2 separate regions of the Homo sapiens genome follow, and region 2 is linked to region 1. The links are contacts of gene promoters, found by promoter capture Hi-C in blood cells and fetal thymus (Javierre and others, 2016). All regions are on one chromosome and are shown on one strand. The core of a region is centred on a gene start or on the middle of the fragment in contact, and the rest is flanking DNA. Distances in the headings are between cores, read along the strand shown. Region 1 holds the start of USP32 (ubiquitin specific peptidase 32). Region 2 holds the start of MED13 (mediator complex subunit 13).

Region 1 (3,028 bases), core at 327-2,826:
CCGTCTCAAAAAAAAAAAAAAGAAAAACACAGAATATTACCTTCTTTCTCTAGCAGGGTATATTAGAATCTGTTGGTTTTAGGAACTAATAACCTTTCCCTGGCCCTAAATTACCTAACCGGCACCTTGGGTCCAATCTAATCCAAATGGTTACTTTTTCAATATTGCTTCCTTTTCCAGAAGCTTTATTCCGTGACTTTTAGGTTGAAGACGCAAACTAAATAAGAGTTGAAAATCAAGGAACTAAATAATAATTCCACTGTACATATACACCCCATTTGGTTTCTCCATTTATGGTTTCCTATAGGTTGTGTTCACCTTTTGGCTCTCGTGAATAATGCTGCTATAAACACGGGGGCACAAATACCTGTTCACATCCCTGCTTTTCATTCTTTGGGAAATGGAGAGGTGGAGTGGGAGAGTCAGTCACATGCTGCCACACCATGAACCTGGAAGGCACGATGCCAAGTGAAATAAGCCAGTCACAAAAGAGAAAGTCTGCAGAGTTCCACTCAGAGGAAATACTTAAGAGTAGTGAAATTGATAGTAGGACAGCGGTTGCCACGGACCAGTGGGAGGGGGATTGGGGAGTTACCGTTTAATAGGCACAGAGTTTCCCTTTTGCAAGATGAAAAACGGTGGGAAATGGGACGTGGCAATGGATGCAAAACAATATCAATGTTCTTAACGCCACTGAACTCACTTAGAAATTGTGAAAATGGTACATTTTGTTACGTATATTTTACCACAGATTAAAACGACTCCACGCTAAGCCTTGTAGCCCTCATGTTTCTCGGGGAGAAACTCTGGGAGAGAGGATAAGCCTTTTGCACAGCGCTTTCCAGAGAATGTGTACAAGAGGCATGGTCAGGAGGAGAAGGTGGGCCGGGCAGGCGAGATGACCCGAAAAGGCAGATCCACTTCGTTAACAAGGTCCACTTTCCTCAGGGATCTCCCGCTAGGTGTGAGCATTCTTTTGTCACAGGAAAGCCTTGAGATTCTCCTTTCCTTTCACAACGCCCTCCCAGTCAAAGACGTCCCTAAGGTTGGGAGCTCCCTGCCTACCCACTCCTTTCTCTTCTGAGCCATATGCCGCATCCCTCAGAACCCCATTCCCTAAGATTCTGCGGTCTTCCATGTTAGGTCCCGGCAACTGCCACACTAACCGTCAGCTGCTCGGACCCCACCCGCCGAACGCCAGAACATGTGGGCGCGGGGGCGGGGGGGGTCGTCCTCAAGCGCCCCGGAAGTCACCACCCCCCGTCGCCAGCGGAGGCGCCCGGGCGGGGCGCGCGGCTGCGATTGGCGGGAAGATGGGACGATGCGTTACGTGCGGAGATGCGTCCCCCTCCCCGGCGCTCCTGCGCGCGGTTAGCTTGGGGAGGGGCGGAGCGTGCGGCCCTGGGCGGCCGTTACCGGGAACAGTGTCTGGCCTCGGGTCCCGTGACCCTCGGCGGAGCTGGCGGGAGGGGGCGGAAGTGGCAAGAGGGCGTGAGGAGGGAAGGAGAGGGAGGAGAGAGAGGAGAGAGAAGGGCGGAGTAGGAGGCAGGGGAAGGGGGCGGGGCGGAAGAGTCACGTGATCCGGCATGGAGGCGGTGGCGGCGACCGGGAGGAGCCGCCGGGGCAGAAGCCGCACTTGTTAGTGTGGGGGGAGGTGGGGGCGGGGGACGCCGACACCGTCACCGTCACCCAGGGACGCCGAGGAGAAGGCGGGAGGGGGGTGGGGGCGAGATCAGGCTCCGACCCCCCGCCGAGGGGATGAGGGGAGCATGGGTGCCAAGGAGTCACGGATCGGATTCCTCAGCTACGAGGAGGCGCTGAGGAGAGGTGAGGGGGGAGGGGTCTGGGCGAGCTGCCTGGGAGGCCCGCGACGGGCAGCCTGGAGGGTGGGTAACCGGGAGGGAGAGGGGAGATTGAGGGCGTGGGGCGCCTGAGGCGGAAGGGAAAGGCGGCCGGCCTTGGGGAGTGTGGTGGAGGAGAGAGGTCGGGTGGGAAGCAGCGTTTGGGAATTAGGGCCGTTTGGAAAGGGGCTTGTCCTGAGAGAGGGGGATCGGCGCTGGCAGGGCAGTGCCCGTGCTCGCTGGTGGCGTTGTGATCCTGGATGTGTCCAGGGAAGTCCTCTCCCCGTTTTCTTGGGCGGCTCCAGCCCATCCAGCCCCCCTCATCCTTCATTGCCATTTTCTCCTATCATTCCTTCATAAAAACCTCAAATAACATCCTAACCTCGTTCCTAACAGCCTTAGCTGGAAGGGGACGAGGAGGCGGCTGCAAAGCGCTCCTCTCTGCTACTGGAAGCCCCTTCGTATCTGGGGAGTCCCTGCCTTTTCCCAGAGCCTATGCCTGTCTCTTGAGGGCTGTGGCCATCCGCTTCTGCCACCCTTCACCGTTTGAGCGGCTGACTTTGATAAGAACGATCTGAAATGAAGTTGTGTTTGAGGTGAGATGAGACTGGACAGCTGGCGTTGGCACCAGACCTTGTCTTAGGTTTCATCTCCTCCGACGTTGACCAAAGCCTTTGACTGCACTTGATGCCCAGTTCTCGCTCCATCCCTCTCCATGAAATGGCATTGGGAAGTCCAGCATTCAGATATTGTGTTAAATCTCCCTTTAGAGACTGGCCTGGCTGCCAGTCCCGGCCTGCTGCTTATTGGCTCTGAGGCACAGTATATTGTTGGCAGCCCCAACCCCCTACCACTCACTCTGATACCGCTGTCCATGATCACTAAAGCACACACTAACTGGAAGTGTCTTGTTGCACAGTTTATGGCCGGAATGTCTTAATTTTTCATGACTGGGATTTCAGTGTGTGTAGATCTGTGTATGCTTGTATTTCTTTTAGACATTTAATGGATATTCTTGGTAAGAAGTGAAAAAACATTAAGAAGATTAGGAGCTAGGCATTATTGTTAACAGGTTTCCAAGTCAAGAAATCAGCCATGCTCCAGGTGGTTTTAGTAGCTAAGGATATAAAATGGTAATTAGATTAAAAGACGGGTATTCAAAATGAGGCTTGAGAAGTGAACTCTTG
Region 2 (3,028 bases), core at 204-2,703, 1.7 Mb before region 1:
AATTGACTTTGATATGTGGACTTTGGGTTCGAATTAGGTTTAATAAGATTTAACTGCTTCAAAGGGCTTTATAAGAATTCATTTTATCCTTCAAATCTGATTTCAAATGCTACCTACTTTATGACAACTTCTCTAAGTTTGATGCTCTTCTTCTAGTGCACTTACTATGCCATAGTAGGTACATACTTTATTCAAGCAATTACCCCCATTGTATTTTACCTTATTCTGTAGGAAATGTTTCCTTTAGTGCCTCTCTTCAGGAATCTTGAGGGACAGGCAGGTATCTTATTCCTATTTGTATCCTAGGCCTAGCACAGAGCAGGAACACACTCAATTGAGCCAGCAGGTTCTCAATGATTTTTAAAATTACATTAATAATTAACATTAAGTAAGCACTGTGGCAAGCACTGTATCTACATTGTTTCATTCACCAGTCATTTTAGAAGAAAAGTACTTTTATTACCCCCATTTTACAATAACCGAGAGAAAGCAAAATTAATTTGATCTAAGGTCAAATATGATCTAAGACTAACTAGTGAGGGGCAGAACTTTTTCTCCAGGCTTTGGGCTTCAGATCTGGGCTCTTCACCACCACAGATGAACAAGTGGATAAATGAGGACTTCTTTTCATTCCGTGGCTGAAGAAGTGACATGGAAGAGTCTACCATTCATTTTACAGATACAATTATGTATCTGTAATACATAATACATAATTATGTATCTGTAATACATAAAATTACAGTAAGTCCTAACTCACTGATGTTTCTAACTTCTGAATCATCTTTTTCTTCTTCTTTCTTTCTTGCAATCCTAAAACCGTCAGAGAAACTGTTTTGAACTCATATTGAAGTGTAACCCATCCAAGCACTGGGTGTTTTATGGGAAAGAGAATAAACCTTTTGTTTGGTTCTTACTTCTTACCACCCATTCATTTGTAACTATACAAATATCAAGCACCTACTGTGTGCTAGGAACCTTTTTTTAGGCACTAGAGAGACAGAAGTAAACAACAAAAAAATAGTGAGACCTTTACATACACTAGTTCTCCTGCTCGTCACAATAACTATATGAGGTAATGATGACAACAATAATAGTTAACTCTTAACAGTGCTTATCTGTGCGGGGCACTGGGCTACCTGCTTAATTTGTATTAACTCATTACAATAAGCTTGTGGGGTAAGGGATATGTTTTCCCCATTTTACAGATGAGTAAAGACACAGAGCAGGAAGTGATTTGCTCAAGCTTGGAACCCAGGCAGTGTGGCTCTAATTCCCAGTCTATTAACTACAGGGCAATATTTTGTTTCTTAAATTTATATCTTCATATCACAACTTTTAGGTTGAGGAGTCTTATCCCCATCCAGATCATCTGACTCCCAAATCCAGAGGTTTGCACCTGCACCCCAGCGGCCTCGCGAAATAAATGAGAATGTCTTGGAATTTTTGCCAATACTTTCTCTTCCAAAGAACTCAAACTGATTTCCACGTAATTCTCACTGATTTGTGAAATGAACCTTCCTGGACTGTAAATTTCCCCGCAAAGAGAGGGCCAGGGCCCCGGGTCGTTTTATACTGGCCGGGGCACCCAGCAGATGGCGCTATGTTAGTGGCCACCAGCTGGCTGCCCCGTCCCCCGAGCTCACCGCCTCCGCCGAAAGCTTCCCGGCCCTCCCTCGCTCACTTCTCTCTCCCCCTCCCAACCGAGCCCGGGCCCACGTGACCTCAAGGCGGCCAATGGGTGAGCAGAGAGGGCGAGCTGGTCCCTGTGGCCGCCATTAAAGCGAAGGGAAAACCCGTGAATTCGGATTAAAGGGGGAAAAACACCGCCCGCTGGGCCCACAAAATGGGGGAGACTACGGCGTCCAGCCGGTGAGGCCACAGGAGGGCAAACTTTAGGCCGGCTTGGCCCAGGAACGACACGAAGACAGAGCCAGAGAATGGTCTGAGCCCGCAGACGCCGCCACCACCTCCGCCGCTGAGGAGACTCTGGGCTTAAGGACATCGCCGCTGCCGCGCCGGGGGCCTGGGCTTCTCTCCCGGTTCTCGCCCTTCCCGCTCCTGTGCGGGCGCCTCTCCGCCCGGGAGAACCGTCCTGGGCTTGGGCTCTGCCGTCTCGGACTTGATTTTGATTATTTATTGTGTAATTTATTATTTTTCTTGTGGTAGGGGCACACATCCCCTCCGTCCCCCAGAGAGGGACGAGCGTCTGCGGGATCCGCAGTCCGGCCCGCCAGGCGAGCGCGGCGCGGCCCTCCCGCCTCCGGCCCTCGGCCCCGGGCGGCTGGGTGCCGGCCGGGCGGCGGGGGCTGCTCGCGGCGGCGGCGGCGGCGGCGGCGGCGGGGGGGTGGGTGGGGAGGGCGGGCGCCCGGCGGCCTCCTCTTCCACCGCCCCCCCAACCACTACCCCCCCCCCGGCCCTCCCCGGTGTCTGTGTTTCTCTCTCTGGTCGGAGGCGGCGGTAATGGCGGATGGTGGGTTGTGGCGCCGGCGGCGGCTGCTGTGAGGGACGATGAGTGCCTCCTTCGTGCCGAACGGGGCCAGCCTGGAAGATTGTCACTGTAACCTCTTCTGCCTGGTGAGTGCCGGGGCCGGCGGGCGCCGAGGGAGGGGGGCCGCGAGGTGCGCCCTTGGGCCGTGGGGGAGGGGGCCGGGTCTGGTCCAGATGCCCGAGTTCCCGGGCGAGGCCCAGCCGGAGCCGGCGCCCTGCGAAGCTCCGCGGCCAGCCCCGGGAGGCGGCGTTCGCTCTCCTACGGTCCCGGGCTCTGTTTAGGGGAGTGTTGGCATTTTTTCTCGTCTTGTTTCGGACTCTCCTTCTCACCGTAGTCTCGTCCTCAACTTGAGCTCCTTATCTGGCAGGACAGTAACCTTTCCCTCTTGTCTTGCTTAACTGTTGCTTTTCTCCTTATTGGCCCTGTATCCCTGCTTCACACTTTACATTATTGCCCCTGCTCCCCACCGCCTTTATGTCTTACCCTTTTAATTTGGTTTCCCCATGTAAACAGGACCCCAGAACTTAAGCCCTAGAAACC

The links. The method cuts DNA at HindIII sites, captures the fragments that hold promoters and counts their contacts. A CHiCAGO score of 5 or more calls a contact.
Region 2: a fragment that was not itself captured here is called in contact with the fragment with the promoter of USP32 in region 1 in 1 of 17 cell types (fetal thymus); the score reaches 5.7 in fetal thymus.

The regions. Positions count from the first base shown.
Region 1 is chr17:60,390,681-60,393,708 of GRCh38, reverse strand. USP32 (ubiquitin specific peptidase 32) reads left to right here and starts at 1,576. Exons shown (of 34, transcript NM_032582.4): 1 at 1,576-1,827. The coding sequence starts at 1,770. RefSeq lists silencers at 1,106-1,425, 1,536-1,755, 1,786-1,845 and an enhancer at 1,020-1,861. The HindIII fragment of the contact is 3,969 bases long and covers 186-3,028 here.
Region 2 is chr17:62,064,686-62,067,713 of GRCh38, reverse strand. It overlaps MED13 (mediator complex subunit 13), which reads left to right and starts at 2,436. Exons shown (of 30, transcript NM_005121.3): 1 at 2,436-2,574. The coding sequence starts at 2,509. RefSeq lists silencers at 1,646-1,725, 2,516-2,795 and enhancers at 1,776-2,035, 2,946-3,028. The HindIII fragment of the contact is 415 bases long and covers 1,246-1,660 here.